Regions from separate parts of the Homo sapiens genome. Here regions 1, 3, 4, 5, 6 and 7 are each linked to region 2. The links are contacts of gene promoters, found by promoter capture Hi-C in blood cells and fetal thymus (Javierre and others, 2016). All regions are on one chromosome and are shown on one strand. Each heading gives the region's core, a stretch centred on a gene start or on the middle of the fragment in contact. The rest is flanking DNA. Distances are from core to core; before and after follow the strand shown. Region 1 overlaps PCMTD1-DT (PCMTD1 divergent transcript). Region 2 holds the start of LONRF1 (LON peptidase N-terminal domain and ring finger 1). Region 3 holds the start of ZFAT (zinc finger and AT-hook domain containing). Region 4 overlaps EBAG9 (estrogen receptor binding site associated antigen 9). Region 5 overlaps PKHD1L1 (PKHD1 like 1). Region 6 has its middle 14 kb from the start of NCRNA00250. Region 7 holds the start of PLEKHA2 (pleckstrin homology domain containing A2).

Region 1 (3,441 bases), core at 541-3,040, about 39 Mb after region 2:
AAAATATTGCTACTAAGGATCCTAAGCAGTGAACATGCTGTTAATACTTGTAAGACTCCTAGCAAACTGCATTTAATTTTTTAAATTAGTTTTAGTGTACATAAAGGCATGTCTTTTCCAAATACTGTACTTTTTGAAGTGTTCTTTGTTGTTCATTAATCTTTGTGCGTTTCCCTTCAGTCTCTAATAGTAGGTTGTAGCATGATTTGCTTCCATCGTGTGAATTCTGTTCGGTTTTGATTTTCAAGTATGAGAGTGAGCGTAAGCTACCCTTATAGGTTACCTAAGGTAAGTTAGAATTAGAACGTCTTTATGCTAGGGTTACTACTCCCCACCATAACCAACCATCTGCAAAAGCGTTCAGAAAGAACATGCTAGCAAGGTCAAAAGCTTCAAATCACGAAATAAGAACTTGAAAACGAGCAAAATTGCTGCTGAGGCGCTCTGCCATTTAACTCAAAGGCTTCACTTTATTTAGGTTTAAAGTATGAGTGCATATTCAGTGGACATTGAGCTCCGAACTGTTCAAAATCTCTATTCATCTGCATTCTGGAGTAGAGCTGCGGGTCACATTATTAGCTCCATCTTTGGATTTCTGCCTGGACCCAGGGCACTCCTAACCGTTGTGGGATCATATAACAATCTTACAGGATGAATTTTCTGTTAGTCCAAGCAGAAATTTTGGCACATGAAAACTATCTTACCATAAACAAACAAAAAAAGTACAAATGGTAATCTAAGGAAAATAGCTAAAATCATTAAACAACTCTTACAGCCGTTTCCCCTGTTTTCTCTCCATTTTTTAAAAGCATATTTTCCTTTACTTTCTTCCTTCTGCTATGGGAATTTTTCAGGGTTCTAGACCTTTTTTCTCTTCTGCGGCTGGAAAGTTAAACACAGGTCATTTTTTAAATAAGACTGCTAGTAAATACCTTCTTAATAAACAACACCAAATGCTAGTCTTGTGGGTGAGTAGTTGAACAGCAAGTAAAGCACTCTATCACCTGTAATTTTCCTGTGGTAGGCACACCCCATCTCTACCTTCACGTAATTTCTGATTATGCCTCCATACCTTACACATATAATTCATTTGTGGGTGGGGGCGACAGAGTCTTTTGCTCTTTTGCCCAGGCTGGAGTGCAGTGGCAACCTCTGCTCACTGCAACCTCCACCTCCCGGCTTCAAGCAGTTCTGCCTCAGCCTCCCAAGTAGCTAGGATCACAGGAGCGCACCACCACCCCCTGCTAATTTTTGTATTTTTAGTAGAGATGGGGTTTCCCCTGTTGGCTAGGCTGGCCTCAAACTCCGATCTCAAGTGATCCACCCGCCTCGGCCTCCCAAAGTGTTGGGATTACAGGCATGAGCCACCACGTCTGGCTATAATTCACTTCTTGTGTGTGACTTCCTACTAATTTGTAATCATGAAAGTTGGGCACATACCCAGTATGCTCACTATTTCTCTGCAGGGCCTGATACAGTGGCTGCTACAACACTGATACTCTGCATTTGTTGAATGAGTAATTTAAATTTTAAATTATCATCTAGAATCATTTAGAGATTTATTTAGACTTTGATAAATTTAGATAACCCACACACAGTTTATTCCTAGAGTTCTTGATACATTGTTACAGTAAGTTTGGTCCTGGCAACAGCAATAACACTTACTGTAATAACTTAATTCTTCATACGAGGTTGCTTCACTTTTATTATTAAGCAGAAAATACCCAAAGTAAAATTGAGCTATTTGGGACTCCTTTCAGAATACTGTGTAGGCTGAAGCATTGTTGTATCAGAAGTGCTCTGTTATTTGAATGCATAAGGTATTCAACAAACAAATGCTTATTAAATTAAATGGTATTCAGCATACAGCTACTGTCACCGTGCTAGGAGTTCACATTTTTCATATGCGTGGCAGTTAGCACTGGTGCATGTTTCCTTCAGCCTCAGAAATGGAGGTGTCTGCGTGTTGCCCAGATCTACCTTGAAAACTCTAGTTGCTTCCTAACACCTAGGTTGTATAGTGGGACTTGATTATGTTTTATAAAGCCAAGTCTGGTCTGTGAGGACTGAAAGGATTTCCTCATCTTAACTCTAATTTGGCCTGCAATGTCTGGGGAAAACCCAAAACTAAAATGTAACTAAATGTGGAACTGTTTTTTTCTGCAGTTTGATTTCCTTGTACCATTTTCAGTACAGTTAAATTCATCACCTCCCCTACCTCACCATCCCCCTCCCCCTGCAAAAAAAAAAAAAGCAAAAACAGAAGTATTTTCTCTCTTAAAGAGAATTGTCATTGGCCAGGCACAGTGGCTCACGACTATAGTCCCAGCCCTATAGGAAGCAGAGGTGGGAGAATCATTTGAGCTCAGAAGTTGCAAGATTTCAAGATCAGCCTGAGCAACATAGTGAGACCTCATCTCTGCAAAAAATTTAAAAATTACCTGAGTGTGGTGATGCATGCCTGTAGTCCCAGCTATTCCAGAAGCTGAGATGGGAGGATTACTTGAGCCCAGGAGTTAGTTTCTAATTGGATGTAGTCTGCACAGGCAGATTTCATTTTCAGTATTAAAAAGGTCAGTAATTTCTGAAATATTCACTTGACAATTAATAGGATTAAATGACTTTGGGAAAGCATAATTTTATTTTAAATTGCACATATAATCCCTCAATTACATAGATTTTAATGCTAGGATAATCTTCCAATAAAAGGAAATATAAGTTATCAAAAAATGAATTTCTTTTAGAAAAATAAGCATTTATAATTTATTGTCTACAGTAAACAAAAAGTGACTTTAACTCACAAGTTAAAATTACTCTTATATGGTGCTTAATCTATATAAATATCTTTCCTTTATTAAAAATTCTGCTTCTTAAAAAACAGAATCATGGAGTGGAGAAAAAGGAAAACTTCTGCTTGTAAACTTAAGTGCATCAAAACTGTGGATAAACATCTTTTTAATGTATATGTAAAATTTAATATTTTTTAAAGAATCTATTAAAGTTCAATAAACATTTTCTGACACTATGATAGATGCTGAGGATATTGCAATAATATATGATATAGCTTCTGTCTTAATAAACTTACATTCAAATAATAGAAGGAGGAAAGTGACCCTTGACATAATAGTAAGGGTACAAATAAAATACTCTTGCTCCATAGTAGTGTTCCATGGCAGAAGTCAAATTTGAATCAAGCTTTGAAATTTGAATAGAATTTTTGAATTATGGAGATAAAGAGAATAGCTATTTTAGGAACATGGAATATAAAAGAATAACGCTTACATAGATCATTTGTTTTCAAAGAGCAGAGATTAATCTGATTTAGCTAGAACATAGAATGCAAAAAGGATAATGGGAGCTAAGCCTAGAAAGATAGACTGCAGCCAGATTTTGGTGGTCATTAGATTGGATGCAACAGCCAGCAAGGAGCCAAAACTTAAG
Region 2 (3,372 bases), core at 835-3,334:
TACGCGTAACACAAGGTTTATCAACAGTGGCACTTGGGGCCTGATAATTCTTTGTTGTGGGAATCCTGCTGTGCCTAGTAGGATGTCTGAGCAGCACCCCAGCCTCTCCCACTAGATGTCGGTACCAGCACCACCCCCACAAGAGGTGGCAACCAAAAATCTCTCCAGATATTGTTCTAAATAATGCCCCCTGAGAGAGGGGAGATAAAATCCCCCTGGTAGAGAACTACTGATTTATATAGAACAACTCTTCCTTTTACGTAAGAGAAGCTTGAAACTGCCCCCTTTCAGCGCCTAAAACCACCTTAAGAAGAAAGTGCTAACCTAGGTTAGGAGGCCGAGGCTGCTTCTTGGAGACTAAGAAATGCACTCAAGACCTATAAGGCCTTTCCCCACAGCCTGATCCTAAGTGGAAAGGCCAGGAGAAGCGTGGCAGAGAACTATGGATCAGGCAGCCCCTCTCATCTTTACCATAAGCTAGGTGCACTGCAAAGTACATAGGAAATAAGCAGGATCTGAAACAGGCCAGCTGAAACTTTCAAGAGGAACCAGTTCAGGCATTTCCAGGTAGCAAGGGACCACCCTGGGCAGCTCCGCCCCAAGCCCCAAGCCCGGCGGCCTGCAGGGCCTCCCGGGGCCGGGCGCCCGCGCGGAGCTCCCGCCACGCCCACCGGACGTCACCCGTTACACAACGCCCCCCGCCCCCAGCTTATGCAATTCTGCCCTCCCGCGGTTCCCAATTGTCCCGGTGACTTTTGTGGGTGAGGAAGGGAGACGCCGCCTGCCCGGCCTAGTTGCCCTCGCGGGGGATTCTCTCCCCGCCCCGGCAGTCGTTTCCCCGCGGCGGGCCCGGCCCGAGAGCCAATTCCCGGAAAGCGCGCGGCAGGAAGCGAGCGGCCGCTCGGGATAGCCCAGCTACCACCCATCCCGCGCCGGGGCGGCCTCGGTCCAGGTCACCCACTCCGCGCCGGGAGCGCGCGCCCGACAGCCAGGCCGCGGCCGAGGGAACCCCGCGCCGAGCGCCCCTCCCCGCGCCGCGTCACAGTCGGCTCCCAGGGCGATCCCCATTATGACCGAAGCACCCCGGGGCGCCGCCCCCTCCCACACCCCCCAGCACCCCGAGACCCGACACGCCAGCGGCCCAGCGGCCCCGGGGAAGCAGAGGAGACTCTCGGGGCGCAGACAAGCTCCGGGTCCCCGGCCCTCGGGGCCAGGAGGGTGCGGTCGGCCCGGCCCCGCCGCATCCCCGCGCGGTCACCTGCTCGCAGCGCCTCGCAGGCGGCGGCCAGGGCCTCCCGGTAGCGCCCCTGGTGCAGTAGCTCCCCGAGCCTGCCGGCCGCCCGGGCCCGCTCGCGCTGGCCCGGAAACCACTTCTCGGCCAGGTGGTTGAGGACGACGCTGGTTCTGAAGTCTGAAGCGGCGATGGCGGCGGCCAGAGGCGGCGGCCGCGGGGCGGTCCCTTCAGCATCAGTGGCACTGGCGGTGGCGGGCGGCAGCCGGTCCCGGCAGAGGCGGCAGCGGGCGCGGAGTTCCCTCCGCAGGCAGCGGCGGCAGTAGCTGTGGCCACAGGGCACGGTCACCGGCTCGCTCAGGAAGCCCCGGCAGCCCAGGCATCTGAGGAGCCCGCCGGCGCCGCCGTCAGCGCCTGCAACCGGGGCCGCGCTCCAGCCCAGCCCGTGGCGGAGCCGGTAGTTGAACACCAGGCAGTCCACCAGGGCGCCCAGGCACTCGGGCCTGGCCGGGGCCCCGCGGCGCAGCGCCGCCGCGAACGCCTCCAGCGCGCCCTTCAGGTGGCCGCCCAGCGCCAGCAGCTCCCCGCGGCGGAGCAGCAGCTCCCAGCGCTCCGACTCCGCGGCCGCGCGCTCCAGCCGATGGCCGCTGCCGCCGCCCACTTCCCAGAACCGGCCTCGGCCCTGCGGCGCTGGGGCCATCTCCCGACTCCCTCCTGGGGAGGTCCTCGCCACCGCCGGAGAGGACATGGCCCGCGGAGGGCTGCGCCGCCGCCGCCCGCCGCCACGGTCCCGGAGCCTCCCGGGCGCGCGGCTCCGCACGCGGCCCGCGAGCAGGGGGGCGTGGCGCGCGGACACGGCGGGGCTGCGCGCGCCCGGGAAGCCCCGAGGGCGGGGCCTGGCGAGGGCGGGGCCGGGCTCGGCGACGGCGCCCGGGACTCCCCCACGCCGCCCGCGGCCGCGCTCCCGAGGAGCCAAGCGCTGGGCCCCGCCCCTTCCGAGCCCCCTCCGGGTGGGGGACGCAGGTCGGATGATTCCTCCGTCGGAGATCTAATTGGCTTCTCCGGAAAGGAGGGCTCGGCTCGTGACGGAACAAAGCCGGAAGGACCCCGGAGCTTCAGTCCCCGCTTGCCTGTCTGCCAACGCCGCCACCTGCGGTGGCCCTCGCCCCTGCCGGGGGTTGGGGGACGCTCCCCTGCCGCGCGGGACTCCGGGTCACCACCCCTCCCCCGACGCCCCCGCCCAGGCCGGACCTGCCCCAACTCCTGGCGGGCGGGGGTCTCCCCGCGTGGCCTCGCGCTTGTGCGGGTCTGCATTTTCATAGCTCTACGCCCATGTTCCAGGTGGGCGCGCCCAAGCAGGGGGCCTGGGAGCGCACCTTCGGCAGATGACTGGGACTCTTCGGTTCTAGAGGACTCAACTTTAAATATGAACAAAAAACCCACGTTCCTGGGGCGACTCCCTCCAGAGGGCAAGGAGTTTTTCCTGGTGCCAGGTGACTGCTTGCCCGTCTTGCTTAAAACTCATCGTGGGCCCACCTCGAGGGAGAAAGCCCACAGCTTCCTCAGGTGTCTCCACACCTCAAGCACTGCCTTACAGCTGGTTAAGGTCTATATTTGGCAGTTTTAAAAGAAAACACCAAGAAACATGTTTCACATGGCGGTCACCGTATTACTACAACCCAAGCTGGCTCTGCAGTTTTGCTGACAGAAGAAAATGATCGGGTTGATATATAATGGGTGCTATTTCCCTTAAACTTCACAGCAGCAAGTTTAAAGCTCTCAGCTGAAAATACAGATTTGATGATAGGGTATTAGATCGCTAATGTTGGAAGTCACTTAGGACTTTTAGTCCTTTTTCAAATGATTGGAAACACAGGGAAAGTTATTTGTCAAAAATCACACAGCTAATACAGATTTTAAGATCACGTCTATTCCACTACTACTACGTTAGACTAATATGTAATATTTAATAAAATATGTAATATTTCATAGAAATATATGAGATTTTCAAAGTAAAAGAAGTTGCTAATTGGAAAGTTCACCTGAGCATGCTATGTATGAAATTGGTAAACGTTTAATATTTCTCTTTATAAGGAACAGGCAATTAAGGCTAAAAAATGTTTTGAGTTCATGTGTTTTCA
Region 3 (3,022 bases), core at 380-2,879, about 120 Mb after region 2:
CCTGTATTTGGAGAGCAAGTCTCTCCGGTGCTCATTTTAGGCTAACCTAAGACAGCACACCTGAATCAGCTGGGCACCACAGCTAATCAGCGCACCTGTGGTCACAGCTACTTGGCAGGCTGAGGCGGGAGGTTTACCTGAGGGCGGGAGGCAGAGGTTGCAGTGACCCGAGATTGCACCATTGCACCCCGGCCTGAGTGATAGTGCGGGACTCTGTCCCAAAAAATTAAAAAAATTAAATTAAAAAAAAGCACGCCTGATATAGTTCGGGTCTCCTGACCCAATATTCGGCTCTGGGCCCACTCTGTCACTCCAGGACACATTCTCCCACATCTAGCACCGCAGCAGGTGGAGGCAGGACTACGACTGGGACTGCTCTTTACCCCTGCCTGGCGTGCAGAGGGGATCCTTGCAAAGCTGTTATTTGAACTAAAGTCAGGAAAGGTGTCCCTGGGGGTTAGAGGTAGGACACGCTACTTCCTTCAGCATGGGGACACACACTACAGATGTTTCAGTAGATGAACTGGTAGGCTCGGAAGATAAAGCTGGTGAGAGGCAGCTGTGCGGGGCATCTCCAAAAGGTCACTTGGACTCCAGCAAAAAAAGCCAGACTGATGGGCAGGCGTGATCAGTTAGCGCGTTCGTTCTTTCATTCACTAAGTATATAGTGAACACTTACATGAGCCAAGCCCTATTCTAAGAAGATGGAGGTACAAGTCAGGCGAGCACGCAGGAGTTTGGATTTTAGCCCAAGTTGGAGGAAGTTAATTTTTAAAGCCCCAGCTCTGTCGTTTTTAAACTGTGTAAAGTTGACCTCTCTGAACTTCTGTTCCTCATAATAAATGACCTACAAATTAGAGTTCTCAAGAGAGCTGAGCAGCAAAACGTGTTAAGTCAGTGCCCAAATGTGGAAGCTTGTGGTAATTACAGGTGAAGGACCCCAAGCTCAAGGTTAAATGACTTGCACCGGGTGTCAAGTGGAAGATCTGTCACTCTATTAGGTCCAGCCGGCGGCCGGGAAGCCTGCAGGAGGTACTCATTTCGCCAAGGAGGAATCCGAGGCCAGGCAAGAAGGAAGCCCCGCCAAGGTCCAGTCAAAGAGCTGGCATCGCCGGGATTCGAACCTCGCGCCCACTGCGTTCCGTCGCTGGCCCGCGCCCCAACGCCACCCATTGCCGTGGAAACGGCCGGGCGCATGCTCTCCCACTCGCTCCCGCCTTGCTTTTTTTTTTTTTTTGCGGCGGGATACCCCAGCGACTGAACGTGAGCCGCAGAACGCAACTACGTTCGCTCTCCTCCCCAGACCCGGATCCCTCCGCGGCCGGCGGCCGGCGGCCGGCGGCCGGCGCACTGCTTCCCGACTCGACGCTCGAAACGGCTTTCCGCGCGCCGCGCCGCGCCCCACCCCCACCCCGTCTCACCCCAACCCCCAGCCCGGCTCACCTGCCGCCCGCGTCTCCATGGCAACGCCCCACCGCGGAGGAAAAAAAAGCCTCGGGCTCTTCCGGGCCCCCTCCCGTGCCGACCGAGGGGGCGGGGCGCCCTGCTGACGCTTCGCTTTTTATTTTTATTTTTTTAAGAAAAGAGCCGGCGAGGTTATGGCGAATCTGCGGCATCCAACATGGCGGATGGAGTCTTCGCCCTCCTCCCCACGGGGCGCAGACGCCTGCGTAGCGGACGTCCGCTTCGGGTGACCCTCCCCCGGCGCCGAGCGCGGCCCGGCAGGGCCGAGCTAACGCGCATGCTCGCAGTCGGAGGCCGTGCTTTTTATCCCACTTCACGGATTCCGCTGCGCCGCGTTTTGAGCCACGCCCAGGGAGGGGCCCTCGGGAGGTCCGGAGCGCGGATCTCGGGGTCAGGAGTCTGGCGGTTGTGCCAGGCCTCTGCTAGCGCGACCCTAGACCCGCGGCATGTGGGGCCGCCGAGCTGGGCGTGCAAGGAGAGTTCTGGGTGCGCTTCGTGTCCCAGCTCTACCTCTCACTACCTAACTTGGGGCAGCGAATTAACTTTTCTTGCTCTCAGTTTACTGATGTGTCCATCGGGGTGCTCCCAACCTGCATCCCGCTCAAAGCTGCGGCGTTTCCCGAAGCGTGGGGTGCTTTCCTTTGGGCCACCCGGCTGGGTTTTAGGGGCTACAGAGCACTGAGCGGCCTACGATCACACGTGACAAGGCGACTTCCTCCTCTCTCGTCTCTTTTTGTCCCACAACAAGTCTGCACTGGATGTGCGCGCCTCCAACACCCGCTCATTCATTTCTCTGCTTGTGGCACAGCCTTCGGCAGGCAGCTGAGTCTGGTGGAAATTTAATGACTTTGTTTTTGGTTTTGATGTTAAGGTGTTTAGCTCCAACACTGTAGTCCTCGGCTCAAATGATATCTTCCAGCCCCTAACCCTCACCCCCCGAAACCCATCTAAAGTAACCCTCCAAGACACTTCATATTTTCTACGTAGCATCCATTCCTATCTGTCATTATCTCCCTCCCTTACCTCTGTCAATGGTCACCCCGTTAGCCTCAGAAACAAACTGAGCCTGACAGTTATTTATTTCATGAGTAATGAGTTGATGTGGTCCATGTTCTAAGGTCATTTTCTGTTCATGACAAATAACGTTTTTCACTTACAGTAGTCATATAAAGTTTTTAAATTGTTCGTTTACATTTTCAAAAATCAGTCAACTTAAAATGGTGTACATGCTGCAAAGACATGCCCCCCCCCCCCCAAAAAAAAAAAGTGTAAAAGCAGACTTCAGGAGACTGAAGTTTGGGAAACTGATTTGTGTTCATGGTTCCCCTGAAATGCTAGTCTTTGCCTGTTCTTCTTTTCCTGGAATAACCCTCTTTGGTTGCTGCTCAACATGAAATTCTCGGACAGCCCTGAAGTTCACACTTCATGTTCCCACAGCTCTGGTCTCACTGGCCTAGCTCCATCCCCCACTTCTCTGTTTGCACAGCGTTCATCCTCACTAGACTGAGCTTCCTGAGCAGCCCTTATAGGTCCTTTTCATCTTGTTTTCTCAGCGCCT
Region 4 (3,482 bases), core at 385-2,884, about 97 Mb after region 2:
GTTAGGATATACTTAAGTTTTTTGGGTGTAACTACCTTATTCAGTGGAATTGTTAGGTGTTTCTGTGGCCTAAGGGTACTGTGAAAAAGTTACTTACATACTAAGAGGAGGGTATAGTAAAAGAGGAAATGGACAGCAATCAGCTCTTTTTTTAATATATATAGACATGACTTAGAGGTTACACACAACAATTTTTGCACTGCCTGCTTTCCAGAGCTTAGTCATATGGCCCCCTAGCTGCAAGGAAGGATAGGAACTGCAGTCTCTGGCTATATGACCATTTGATAGCTGCTAAATTGAACTTATTGCTAAAAGTAGAGTGGTCTGGGATTTAAAAAAAAAAAAAAAATCCAGGGTATTGCAAGAGAACAAGTGGGTGAAATGATCATCTCTGGATGATCACTGGGGCAGAAGTGAAGAAAGAAATGGAAAATTTAGGTGGTTGACTTGAAATCACCCAAGAGGATAGGATTTGGGAAGTAGAAAAAGGAGCAAACTAAGTGTTCAAATTACCAGAGAATGAGGAAGAGAATGGCCAGAAATTCACCAGGTAAAGCAACATTAAAAATGGGTATTAATTGCCAGAAGGCAGGAAGTTAAAAGAAGCATTGTGTTAACAGTGGTGATGAAATGTAGATGTTTTCTTCTTATACTTCTATTTTTTAAAATTTTCATTAAATATAGATTACTTCTAGGATAAGAAATTTTCTTGATGTAAAAATATTAAGGACATTCCTATTGGCACTATAAATTTCTGTTGTAAATGTATACATATTTAGAATTGATTGTATGTTCAGTTTTAAAGAAAACTGACCATATGTTAGGATAAGCTTCTCTTTGGTGTCTGAAGGAACCTTAGACCATGTATTTTAAAATACCAGACTTGGCTAGGCATGGTAGCTCATGCCTGTAATCCCAATGCTTTGGGAGGCCGAGGGGGTAGGATAGCTTGAGGCCAGGAGTTCAAGACCAGCCTGGGCAACACAGCAGGACCCCATCTCTATGGAAAGGAAAAACACGCTTGTATCATAAATTTCATAAAGGACTATATTACTTTTCTATTCACCCTTTAAACAAATATAGCTTTGAATCTGTAATAAAAATAGCTGACTTTATCGTTCTTAGTTCTTAGTTGATGCTTTTTTTTTTTATAGATTATTTGAAGTGAAGTAAATGACTAATTATCTCTATTACCTGCCATTTTTTGTATGTTGTGCTATGTAGCAGGCACACACTGTCTAGGGTTTTTAAATATGTCACTTAATTAAATCCAAACAACCCTGCAAAAGTGGGTTTGAATACCTGCATTTTATAGATGAGGCTGTTGAGGCTGAAAAGTAGGTAATTCTAACTAGACATAATAGAAGTAACATTGAAAACTGTGGTTTACACAGATTCCACAGCCCATGTTCTTAACAACTGAGTTATAGTACGTCCTGTTGAATGTGGTACTTTTCCTACTAATCCTTAAAAGTAAGTTACCATTTGGTTCAAACTAGTGATTTTTAAACTTCTTAATAGTTAATCTTATCAAGAAACCCCATGTGTAAAACATAAAAGCCAAGCCACCCTGTTTAAAACAGCAAAGGTGGCCCAGAACTTCACCCACAGAACCCACAGCACTCCAAGGAGCATGCTCTGAAACCGTCTTGCATTTTTATTTTTGACTTTATATTCCTCTTGAGTTTGTTTATAATTCTGAGTCCTAAGCCAAAAAGCAGTTATGTTGTTCTGTCCAAGATTTAAAAAACATTCACAGGATGTCTGATTTATGACTTTTTTTTACCATAAATTAGTGAGTAACTGTTACTAAAATCAATAATCATAAAATTGAGAAAGATCTTGTTTTATAAGCCTTCAATTACCATACATAATAGTGCTTTTACTTTGCTTGTTTTGGTGGTTCTTGAAATAAATTATTTCATTTTTGTTTCAGATCTGGCAGAGGACGGAAATTAAGTGGAGACCAAATAACTTTGCCAACTACAGTTGATTATTCATCAGTTCCTAAGCAGGTAGGTTTTTTTTGTGTGTTCTTTTGTTTTGTTTTGTTTTGAAAGATTGAATAAGTGTCCTAGAACAATATTTTAAAAACTGGATTGCAGATCATTAATAGAAATTAATTTTTGTTGTGTTGTTAAATTTATCTGGTCTGAAAATTCTATTTGGTTCTACATTTTATCTTCTGTTTCTTTGTTGACATTTTCTATTGTGTTTTCATTGGTTTCAAGTGTTTGCTATTGTTTGTTGGAGCATTTTTATAATAGCTATTTTAAAGCCTTAGAGAATTCCAACATATCATTTTGGTGTTGGTATCTGTTGATTAACTTGCCTTGCAAATTTAGATGTATTGTTTTTATATGCTGAATAATTCTGGGTTGTTTCATGAACATTTTGAATACTATGTTTTGAGACTTCATCTTATTTAAATCCTGTGGAGAAGCTTGGTATTTTTTATCAGATGATCAATCTGGATAGGCTTGGGTGAAAATGTCCAGCCCTTCTGTGAGTTGTAGTTTTAATGTCAGTTCAGTTTTCAGAGCATTTGCTTTCGTTTTACTTTGTTTTTTGTTTTTTGATGGACATAATAGAATAAAATAGAACAGAATATATCAGAATGTCTTGTATTTTTTGAACTTTTGATCAAGTTTTGATCTGTGATATGAAATGTATGTTTTCCCGTGGGTTAAAAAAGTTTGAAAACCAGTGTTTTAGAAAGCCCATTTTTCTAATAAATCATCAATGATGTGTTCATTAAGTTGCCCCTTTGTGGCTGATAATGTTGATCAATTAAATTTAGACAGATGTTGAAGAGTGGACTTCCTGGGATGAAGATGCACCCACCAGTGTAAAGATCGAAGGAGGGAATGGGAATGTGGCAACACAACAAAATTCTTTGGAACAACTGGAACCTGACTATTTTAAGGACATGACACCAACTATTAGGAAAACTCAGAAAGTATGTTAAGATTTATGCTTTTGGAGATTAAACTACTTTTTAGATTCCTATAGTTAAAATTAGGTGATACAATTCACATTTATTAGAAAGCCTATTTCTTTTTTTTTTTTTAATACTTTAAGTTTTAGGGTACATGTGCACAACATGCAGGTTAGTTACATATGTATACATGTGCCATGTTGGTGTGCTGCACCCATCAACTCGTCATTTAACATTAGGTATGTCCCTAATGCTATCCCTCCCCTCTCCCCCAACCCCACAACAGGCCCCAGTGTATGATGTTCCCCTTCCTATGTCCATGTGTTCTCATTGTTCAGTTCCCACCTATGAGTGACAACATGCAGTGTTTGGTTTTTTGTCCTTGCGATAGTTTGCTGAGAATGATGGTTTCCATCTTCATCCATGTCCCTATGGAGGACATGAACTCATCCTTTTTTATGGCTGCATAGTATTCTATGGTGTATATGTGCCACATTTTCTTAATCCAGTCTATCAGCATATTTCTAATTATCAGTTGTTTGTT
Region 5 (3,380 bases), core at 641-3,140, about 97 Mb after region 2:
AATTTTCACTGTATGAAATGTACAGTATACATAGACCAACTCCTTTAACAAGAATTTCTGGTATGTCTTAAAGGGCATGGGTGGTTAGAGGGAGATCCCCAAACAAACAATTCAAAATTAAGAGTTTAAAAAGCAACAATCAAGACACATATCCTCCTAAGTGAATTTGAATTAGACACTGGAAAATTTAAAAAGGTCAGTTACTATGAAGAAGGTGTAACAATATTTATATTAATCAGACAGCAAAGTAACAAACTGACTTAGAGGAAGGAAAATAGTAAAATACAAAAGACTAAGTTAGCAGATCATTTTGATATCCAGATGTGCTGAAATGATGGACACTGAGAAGAAAGAATAGACAAAACTTGGCAACAGATCTTGGTATGAAATAAATATCCCATGAGTAGTACATAAAAGCCTGGAGAGAGAGGGGAAGGATTGTAAGTGTCATAGTTCTGACAGCTGCTCTTTCATCCTATGCCTTTAAAACAAAGGGAACAAAGAAGGGAACAAAGAAGGTAGAAGCGGGGGTATGGAGGGTTGACTTCTGGCTGTCCCTCCCTGTTTCCCTTTGTTAATATATTGCTAGTAGACATGTCTACTTCTGGTTGCTGATGACATAAAATTCACCTCTATTTCTTGGAAGCACTATTCCATGTTGTGAGCTAAAGGGGATTGTACTGATCTTGAAGATAACAAATCTGCCTGCTTCAAAGGTTTCACCGATTTTATTGCTGTGTTTCCAACACATTTCCACATATGGTATGATATTTAATTTGCAAAATAAATCCGTAAAGCAGGAATTACTAACCTAATTTTGCAGATGAGAAAACTGAGGCTTAAAGTTGTTCAAGGTCAAAGTCACGATGTCCATCATGCTGTAGCTCAATGAATGAGTCTCACATTGTTTCATGTTGTTTTATTTCTACTTTCTCAATCCATGTACAAGATAGATTTACAAACTACTGTTTTATGTTGGTTGTATGAATTTCAATACATTTACTGTTAGAAATAACAAAAGGTCTTAGACTGCCAGATGCTGTTCCCATCAACTCTACTTAATTCATAATATAGCTGAACTCTGTCATAAATCTAATAACGATGTGGACATTAGCCAGAAGTATGATGTGGCTGAACCTCACCACTGAACACAAAATGAGAATTCACCTCATCTTTTCATTTGAATTTATTTCTACTAAAATATATGTATTATTTTTCTTGATTTCTAACCAGGCCCCTTCTGAAGAAAACTGGTTAACTCTAAATTGTTACTAAATTTTGAATCTTCCTGTATTTAGCAATAAAAGTTACTGCTAATTGTAATAACAATTATGAGGAAAAATTTATTTAAATGCTTCATAGAAAGTTAATTTTCATTTAATAGAAAAGAAATAAAAAATCTGCTTCAGACTGTTTGATTTCTCTATTAGGCAATTGACCCTAACTAGTATATGGTGATTTTGAGTATTAAAAAAGAAGTTATAATTTTCCAGAATATTAATGTTTATTATTTTGAAAGCAAGTAAAATTCTCCAGTAGGAAGATTAATAAAACAATTCATTAAAATTCTCATCAGAAAATCCTATGCTTTCAAATGTATCTGCTCAAAGATGTCACTCTATGTGCGGCAAAGCTTTGTTTTACTTGATCAAGAAATGAATGTGACTTTATGATCTTGTATTCAACTGTGAACAGCTGCTCATTAATAAAAAGCCATTAAAGTCCAAGTCAGAACAGCAGGTCTAAAATTGTGTTTGAGGGAAAAAAAACCCACCCTTTGATGAAAAGCCAGGGAACTGGGTTGGGAAAGATCTGGAAGCAGAGGGCTGTGTTTGCAGTCTGCTCCTACCTCCTGGGCCAGGTCAGGTGACAAGGCCAGAGTTAGCCCCAGCTGGAGAAGTCAGAACAAAGCCTATGTAGGCTTTGAAAGGGGAGAGTAAGTGGTGGGCTGGAGGTTGATAGTGTGAATAAATCAAGCTGGTAATTGGGCAGAGGCTGATCAGAAGCGTTAAAGTGAGCAAAATGGTTTGGACACAGAGCAGACAGAATTTACTATATTCCATTGAGTAAAAGAAATTCATATGCCAGGTTCTATCCCTTATGTTCCTCCCATTTGACATCTGGTGGTTTCCTACCCCCGTCCCACACAAGCTTTGGGGAGAGGACAGGACTTAAAGTTCCCTGTTCCCAAGAGGTGGTCCCTAAACCCAATCCCAAATTATTGACTTGTGATCCCAATTATGGGCTTACTATTTAACAAGTAAAGATGATTTTAAAATATTATTTTATAGGTATTACTAAAGTAAATTTTAAATTTGCAGTCTTTAGCGAGCTTTGTTTTCTGTTTTGCTATTGTGTTGGGAAACAAGTACTCAGTAACTAGCTGTTTCTGGAAAAGTATATACATTTCGTTTTGTTTCATTTGGAAATGGCAAATTTAATAAAGAAAACTGAAGAATCAGGAAAAAGAAGAAAATATCCTTGGGCATAATAAATTGTCTAAAGCAATCAACTCTTTAAGAAAAAAAATTTAAACACGTTTATATCCGAATATAGGTTATTTTGGATTTTTTTTTTTTTTTTTTTTGAGTCAGGGTCCTGCTCTGTCTCCCAGGCTGGAGTGCAGGGCCCAATCATGGCTCACTGTAGTCTCGACCTCCCAGGCTCAGGTGATTCTTCCCACCTCAGCCTTCTGAGTAGCTGGGACTACAGGCATGCGCCACCAAACCTGGCTAATTTTTAAATTATTTGTAGAAACGGAGTTTCGCCCGTTGCCTGGGCTGGTCTTAAATTCCTGGGCTCAAGCGTTCCTCCTGCCTCGGCCTCCCAAAGTGCTGAGATTACAGGCATGAGTTACCGTGCCCAGCTAGATAACTCGATTTTTTAAATCCAAAAAAAATTTAGAAATTTTATATTGAAATTTAGGCATTAGAATTCTAGAGATTAAAGTTAGAGCAGGTGTTTAAGGGACTGAAAGGGGTTGCATGGCCTTTGGGAAATGCAATTACCGGAAATGATACTGTAGTAATGCAATAGTAATGCAGTAGTAGTAGTAGCTGCAGCAACAACTGTTATCTATGAATGTTTGCTATGTGCCAGGCTCTGTGCTAAGAGAGCTTTGCAAGCATTACTACTGCATGAAGTAGGCACTATTATGGCCATTTTACTGATGAGGAAATTGAGGTGAACAGATTAAATAATTTTACCCAACTTTACACAGAACCATTCCAGAGCACGAGCCATAAACACATCTTTCCCGTCTTGGAAATTAAATTATTAATAAAAAACGTGGTGCAAATTGGAAAGAGGACGGTTGTGGTAGATTATCACAAAGTTAAGTGGGTAGGTGGTTGCTGGGTCAGGGTGGGAGAACAAAGGCA
Region 6 (3,190 bases), core at 84-2,583, about 120 Mb after region 2:
CCCAGCTTCCAAATTCCCATATGTTCTCTGCATACTCTGGACACCCTAGTAGGTCATAAGTAATAAAGATAAGTACCCGATTTAGCTTTATATCCCAGCCCCTCATCTTCAACTCACAGCTTGCATAAAAAACACTAAAATTTATTAAAATTTGAAAAATTTCTGATTTTCAAAACACATTTCCTTCCTATAATGAAAATTTTTTAAGTTACCCAAGTAACTTTGATTATATTTTAATTGTTATGAGAGCATAAGTGTGAGAAAGTAAAGGTGGGCTAGAAGGACAGATGGGGGATTATTACAAGAAATATACTTTTATAAAGAATACTTTATAAAATAACTTGGAAAAAACTCTTCTTCCCTTAAATTTTTCTTTGTGTACTACATGTGCATATTTTCACAGGATTTAATAGGACATGGTCCCTGACACAAATTACTAAAGCCCTACCTACTTCTCTCACTGCAGGTATGCATCTTACAAAGTAAGATTAAAAAGCGGCTTCATTGACTTAGGAAAATTAACTTGCACATGCCTTTTTGGAATATAAATTCAGATTTTTAAAAAATCTATTCCCCCAAGCCAAAAAAGGAAAATGTGGGGGAAAAAAAGGGGAACATCTGTTCTCTACTAAGGAATATGAAAGTTTAGGACTGACTTAAAGTACAGGTTAAGGCTTAAGAACTTGCCACTGGAATTCTGTACTATTTCTCTTCCTGCTCTGTTGTGGACACTACCAACACCTGGTCATGGGAACTCAATGATAAGCTCAGAAATCAGGAGAACTAGTTTCAAATCTCCCATGTCAATCCATCCAACGGGAACAGCCTACATTTCACTGGGAGACAGGACAATACCTCAGTAGAGATAGCAGTTTTGGAAAGTACTGAAACAGTTGCCAGTCTAAAACACAGTAACTAACTAAAAATCTTAAGTTTAAAAAAAATTAGATACTCAAGTATTAAAGCAATTATCTTTAAAAGATGAAAATGATGCACAATAAATATTGATTTAAGAAGCCACTTCAAATTAATTACAGTTAACATGTATTGAGTATTTTCTGTATGTCAGGCATTCTTTTAAGTGCTTATATACATTAATTCCTGGCTACTCTTCCCCACAGCCATATAAAGTAATATTATCATTGTGTTCATTTTACTGATGAGAAAAAGGAGGTATAGAATGGTTAAGTAACTTGCCTAAGACAACACAGCTACTGAGAGACAGGAGAGTGATAGGAATTCAGGCAGGATAGCTCCAGGTTTCATTCTACCTTTAGAGTTGGTATTGCTGTATTACATATCTTGACACTTGAAGGCCCCTTTAAGTCTATCAGCTTTAATCGCATATGAAATATTATCACAGGCAGCCAAGGCTGTATAGAATTATTAAAATGCTTTCACAATCAACTTTTAAGATCAGATCACTGAATCTAAGATATCACTTAAGCCATTAGAATCTAATATAATTTAAAAAAATATTTTGGATTTATTATACTTCATGATAAGTGCAAATGGGTGCCTTTTATATATTTAGCATAATGTCGGACACTGTCACTAAAACTCTTTTGCACAGAACTAGATCTGGGATATTTTATTCACATTAGTGTTTATTAAAGTAATTTTACTACTTCTCAAATTCTAAATGCAATAATTCAACAGACATTTGAATACTGAATAAACACCAAGTAGTATGAATACAAGATAAATTAGATGGTCTCTGCTCTCAAGGGAGGCCACGGTTACAAAACAATGTAATAACTGCTTTTATGGAAAGATGACCAAGGTTCCAAGGGAATTGAGTGCTGCCTAGCTCAAGTGAGAATGGTGGCAGTTCCATGTGCGAAGGCATGCAGATGTAAAAATAACATTTTCCTCTCAGGGAACATCAAACAATTTAAGTAGAATTAGAATGCAGGGTTTACATGGAAAGGAAAAAGTGATCAGAGATAAAGAATAAAGTTGGAGCTAGGGAAAGAAAAGTCTTATCAGTCGTAATAACAATAAAAAAATAGCAAGGATTTAAGCAGGCAAGTGATAAGAGCAAATATGGTAACAATAGAGGCTATCGTATTTTTAAACAACAGAACCTTGCTCAACTGAAATACTATGCAAACTTCCACGCTTAAAATTAATCAAAATAAAACAGCACTGGTTGAAACCGGGATGAAATGCTTGACTTCCTCCAGCACACTCTCAGCAAGAGTTTCAAAATCACTGCTTTAGAAAGTAAAATTATTATCTCTACACAAATATGTTCTACTTACTTCATGCCTCTCCTGACATGATTCTAAGTGCTCAAGTACAATAATTCATTCTAGTAGTTGTTCATCAATTACAGAAGTAGTCATATACAGAACTAATCATATAGCATGAGATCTTCAAAATTAATGACAAAAAATTATAATACAGAAAAAAGAAGATAAAAATTACCAGCTTTTTCACTCAAGTTAAAACTATCATTTAAATGAACACATTTTCTAACCTAAAAGTCAGAATTCATGGTTGGACAAATACTAGTGTATTTATGGACACAGAATATTCAAAACTGGTACAGTGCAGTGCTGTAAGGCATAGAATGTAACTGGCATAAGTGTAATTTTTTTTCCAAGATTGGTAAACTTGAATTTTCCTAACAATGACCTTCTGTCTAAAAGCCCTTCTCCATCTATAACTATGGTGTCTATTCTTCCACCTTATAAAATTTGGAAATCTAAATGTGATTACTAAAAATGATCATCATTGTGAAACTGTTTGTCTTCCTTATTGCCATCTAATATTCCCAGCAATAACATGTAAAACTGGTTAAAGAGGTACATATGCCTCTCTTACAATTCACTACTCCTGACTCTTCACAGTGAGAAGCGTGAATTAAAAATCAAGGTTATAATCCCAGGGAAAAGGCATACAATGATTAGCTCAACATGTTTTAGAACGAAACAATTACACTTACTTTATACAATCTAAACTAATCCCTATGATCTTTCTCTTTACCTTTACCCCCTTCCCTCCCAGTACTAACATTTGTGGGGAACACAATCACTCAGTCTTAAGAATTTTTAAAGAATCATCTGCTTTATAATTAACAGATTGAAAAGAAATGTTCAAAACAATGTTTAACACACAATAAGAGTTACACAAGGATCTCAGATAGTTATTTCTTTACTCCATCAGATAAAACATTAGAAAACAA
Region 7 (3,327 bases), core at 170-2,669, about 26 Mb after region 2:
GCTCATCGGCCCGAGCCCCCCTCCCCAGGCCTTGTGGCCTCCGGTCGGTCGTGGAGACATAAGAGGCCGCCTTTCCTCTGTTAACACCGGGAATGTGCCCCAGCCTCTCCCTCCTTCCTGCAAATCCAGTCCTTGTCCTGGAGAACCTCAGCGTCTTCTTATGCCTGCCTCTTTCAAAGCCTCGTAGGATTTACACCTGATTAACAACGTTTGCATTAGGATCGCCAGACACCGGCGCACGGCCCCGCAGGCCCGCGCGAATCTTCTACATTTTCATGTTTCGGATGTTGTCCACCTGACTTGATGCATATTCAAATGTCTCTCTCCCGACGTGGGAGGCCGGAGTCAGAACCTGACAGACCTGCCGTTTACTAACTGGGTACCCAGGGCAAATTACTTCACAAGTCTGAGTCTCGGTTTCCTCACCGTGAACCGGACTGGTACCCATAGGTTGCGGCGTGGATCAAATGAGATAGCGCAGGGGCGGGACCCGCGCACAGCAGCTCTCTTAGTTCCTCTTGGCGAGGTTTACGTAGTAACACATGCTTGTCTGTTTCCCATTTTTTCCCAGAGCACCCTCATGCTCTGGGGGCAGGAAGGGAGTCTTCGCATCACACCGAAAAAGTCCCAACGGGCACGGTGTAGGCGCCTGTGGTCCCAGCTACTCGGGAGGCTGGGGCAGAAGGATCGCTGGACCCAGGAGGTCGAGGCTGCAGTGAGCTATGACTGCGCCACCGCACTCCAGCCTGGGCGACAGAGCCAGACCCTGTCTTGATTAAAAAATAAAATAAAATAAAGAAATTAAAGTCCTTATAACCCTGGTTAGAGCGTTCCCGCCCACTGGTCTCTTAGGGCACATTTAGGACAACCTGAAGAAGCCACTCTTCTTGGGACCCTAACCCTTACCCCAACTCCTCGGTCCCCAAAGGCTAAGGGCTCGGGATCCGAAGGAGGCCCAGCTGAGGTCGCTGGGTGGGGCTCTGGGAGGAGGAAATGGGGTTCTTGAGGGAGCTCGCGCTCCAGCTCGCCTCCTCCTGCGAGGACGCCCCCTGCCCGGACACCTGCTGCCCGAGCGAGCGTCGGGGCCGGGCCTCCCCGCGGGGCAGTCTCGGCGCGCAGGTCCCACCTGCCAGGCGCGGAACGCGGGCGGCCTCGGGCGCAGCCTCCGGGCGCCCCGCCCCCGCCTCCCCCGCGCGGCCCCGGCGCCCGGCCGCACCCCCTCCCAGCCCGCGGCGCCCCGGCACCCCTCTCCCTCCCCGGCGGGCTCCGCGGAGCATTGTACTCACATCCGGGGCTGGGTTTTGCTTTAATGCGAAACGTAATTAACCCGGAAAAAAGAGCCGAGGGACGGGAGAGAAGGAGGGGGCACTGGGGGAGACCAGAGCGAGGGGAGCGAGAGGCGCGGAGAGTTTGGCAGGCAGACCCAGAAATCCCTGGAGCGCGGCGGACCCGGCGGCCGGAGGGGCGACCCCGCCCGATGTAACGCGCCCCGCCCGAGCCCCGGCCCCTGCACGGGGGGGTAAGTTGGGCGCCCTCGCGGGCTCGGGAGTGGAGAGGCGCAGAGGGGCGCGCGGGGGCTGGCGGGGCTGGGGGTGCAGGGGGCGCCCCGGCGGAGGCCTGGCGGCCTAGGGGCGCGAGGGGCGCGCGCGCAGGGCTGAATACGCCGGTCCTAGTGGCTGACAGGCGAGGGGAGGTGGCCGCAGACCCTGGAGGCCTCCTCCAACCCTCTGGGAGAGCCCCGAGGGCAGCCCCTCCTCCAAGTGCCCCGGGTGGCCAAGGTCGCCGCCGCCAGGGGTCGGGCTGCGGGGGGTGGGGCCGCGGAGAGGGTGGGGGCGGGAGTTCTGCTGAGCTGCATTTTCTCACGTTTGCAGCAGCGAAACTTCTCTGCGGGTTCTGGCGCTGGGGCACCGACCCCGCAACGACTGCCCGGGCTGCGGGAGGGGAGGAGAGCAGAGAACGTCCCCAGGCAAGTCCCTTGGGTACGGATTGGGCCATGGAGACTCCTCTTTCACTCCCCCGACTACCTTATTAAATGACAGGCCTAGAAGGCTCCCCTAGGGACTCCTGTCCTTTCCTCTGGGTGCAGCCTGGACTTCGGGCTTCTGGAACTCCAGACAGTGAAAAGGACTGCCCTAAAATGCAGGTTCGGTGCCAGGTTGGGTGAGCCCTCGAGGGGAGCTGTCGTTCTCTCTCTCACCAACTTCTTCCTCACCTTACACGCTTCCCTTTTCTCCTCCAGTCCTAAAGACGATTTCACCAAAATTTTTTTAAAAAGAAAGAGAAAAGAAGGGTGTGGGGGGGGGTGGTGGGAAGCTAGGCCGTTTAGAAGGGAAAAGTGTCCCTGCACGCCCAGAGAGGGGCGCAGGGCCCGCTGCGGCCGGAGCACCCTCACATCTCCTCCCCGGGGCCAGCCCTGCCCCCAGGCCCTAGCCTTAGGGTTTGGCTTCCTTCCTTCTTGGTGAACGCAGGTTCAGGATGTATCTTCCCCTTCTCATTCCTTCTTCCTGCCCGCCCCCTTTCTTTCTTTAGGGCTCCAAGTGGGGTTTTCAGAGGACAGTAAACGGCAGAGAAGAGGGAGGGGAGAGCACCCCACCAGAAAGCCAGCTGTGGCTCTGGGGGCTCTGAAGGCTGAGCTGTAGATGCACTTGGGGCTGAAGTCCCAAGATTGCACTAATGGTGTTCTTAATCTATCTGACCAAGTCCCATTTTCCCTTCTTTTGTCATTTTTTTTCTTTGGTTGCGAAGCCTTCCGAAACAGCAAAGCAAAAGATCTTGAAAGAATAGAAGTTTTTGCTTTCTATTTCAGTTGCATTCAGTTGACATGTATTATACATGCAAGGCAGTGATGAACAAAACACAACCCCTGTCTTTATTTTTTCTTTTTCCTTTACCTCTGGAGGGCTGGACCCTGTCTTTGGCGAGCTTACAGGACTTGTAAGCCCCCCACTTGTTTTGAGAAGCCAGAGTAAGCTTTTAGAAAGCATCATCATCATCTCAGACATTAGCCCTCTTCACCATGTGCCGCCTGAAGGCAGATGACTTTTGCACTATCAGAGGTCTAGCTTGTAGTCTAGATTATGGCCAGCCCAACGTATGACATGTACCAGGTGCTAAGTAAATGTTTATTGCATTAATGAATGAATGCAAACACATGAATTGTTTGCACTTGTCCAAATGGCAGAGAAAAGAGCAGTGTGGTTGTTCCTCAAACCTGTAGGGATTTGGTTCTCCAAGCTGGTACATGGGAGTTATTAGTCCGGATGTTGCCTTTACACCTAAGTATCCTTTGACCCTGTTTGTACATTACAGCATGCTTTCTACAAATTG

The links. The method cuts DNA at HindIII sites, captures the fragments that hold promoters and counts their contacts. A CHiCAGO score of 5 or more calls a contact.
Region 1: a contact is called between a fragment that was not itself captured here and the fragment with the promoter of LONRF1 in region 2, in 1 of 17 cell types (naive CD8 T cells). The highest score is 5.6, in naive CD8 T cells.
Region 3: a contact is called between the fragment with the promoter of ZFAT here and the fragment with the promoter of LONRF1 in region 2, in 1 of 17 cell types (naive B cells). The highest score is 5.3, in naive B cells.
Region 4: a contact is called between a fragment that was not itself captured here and the fragment with the promoter of LONRF1 in region 2, in 1 of 17 cell types (total CD4 T cells). The highest score is 6.3, in total CD4 T cells.
Region 5: a fragment that was not itself captured here is called in contact with the fragment with the promoter of LONRF1 in region 2 in 1 of 17 cell types (naive CD8 T cells); the score reaches 6.2 in naive CD8 T cells.
Region 6: a contact is called between a fragment that was not itself captured here and the fragment with the promoter of LONRF1 in region 2, in 1 of 17 cell types (naive B cells). The highest score is 6.1, in naive B cells.
Region 7: the fragment with the promoter of PLEKHA2 here is called in contact with the fragment with the promoter of LONRF1 in region 2 in 1 of 17 cell types (non-activated CD4 T cells); the score reaches 6.9 in non-activated CD4 T cells.

Annotation. Positions count from the first base shown.
Region 1 is chr8:51,900,159-51,903,599 of GRCh38, forward strand. All of the region lies in intron 1 of PCMTD1-DT (PCMTD1 divergent transcript), which reads left to right. Among named protein-coding and RNA genes, the nearest start is that of PCMTD1-DT, 2.6 kb to the left of the region's middle. The HindIII fragment of the contact is 2,805 bases long and covers 389-3,193 here.
Region 2 is chr8:12,753,442-12,756,813 of GRCh38, forward strand. It overlaps LONRF1 (LON peptidase N-terminal domain and ring finger 1), which reads right to left and starts at 2,085. Exons shown (of 12, transcript NM_152271.5): 1 at 1,259-2,085. The coding sequence starts at 1,979. RefSeq lists silencers at 484-723, 864-1,403, 1,300-1,490, 1,494-1,833, 1,914-2,583 and 1 more and an enhancer at 1,559-2,378. The HindIII fragment of the contact is 11,195 bases long and covers 269-3,372 here.
Region 3 is chr8:134,711,402-134,714,423 of GRCh38, forward strand. ZFAT (zinc finger and AT-hook domain containing) reads right to left here and starts at 1,630. Exons shown (of 16, transcript NM_020863.4): 1 at 1,444-1,630. The coding sequence starts at 1,462. RefSeq lists an enhancer at 1,462-1,641. The HindIII fragment of the contact is 8,105 bases long and covers 913-3,022 here.
Region 4 is chr8:109,551,929-109,555,410 of GRCh38, forward strand. EBAG9 (estrogen receptor binding site associated antigen 9) reads left to right here. Exons shown (of 7, transcript NM_004215.5): 3 at 1,937-2,015; 4 at 2,801-2,959. Among named protein-coding and RNA genes, the nearest start is that of EBAG9, 13 kb to the left of the region's middle. The HindIII fragment of the contact is 1,613 bases long and covers 829-2,441 here.
Region 5 is chr8:109,535,481-109,538,860 of GRCh38, forward strand. It overlaps PKHD1L1 (PKHD1 like 1), which reads left to right. Exons shown (of 78, transcript NM_177531.6): 78 at 1-1,727. Among named protein-coding and RNA genes, the nearest start is that of EBAG9UORF, 2.6 kb to the right of the region's middle. The HindIII fragment of the contact is 518 bases long and covers 1,632-2,149 here.
Region 6 is chr8:134,822,359-134,825,548 of GRCh38, forward strand. It overlaps a transcript of ZFAT not described here. Among named protein-coding and RNA genes, the nearest start is that of NCRNA00250, 14 kb to the right of the region's middle. The HindIII fragment of the contact is 5,364 bases long and covers 1-3,190 here.
Region 7 is chr8:38,899,927-38,903,253 of GRCh38, forward strand. It overlaps PLEKHA2 (pleckstrin homology domain containing A2), which reads left to right and starts at 1,420. Exons shown (of 12, transcript NM_021623.2): 1 at 1,420-1,519. LOC124901937 (a long non-coding RNA gene) reads right to left here and starts at 1,519. Exons shown (of 2, transcript XR_007060893.1): 1 at 1,287-1,519; 2 at 1-770. RefSeq lists enhancers at 1-21, 82-331 and silencers at 932-1,341, 1,422-2,091. The HindIII fragment of the contact is 6,068 bases long and covers 1-2,968 here.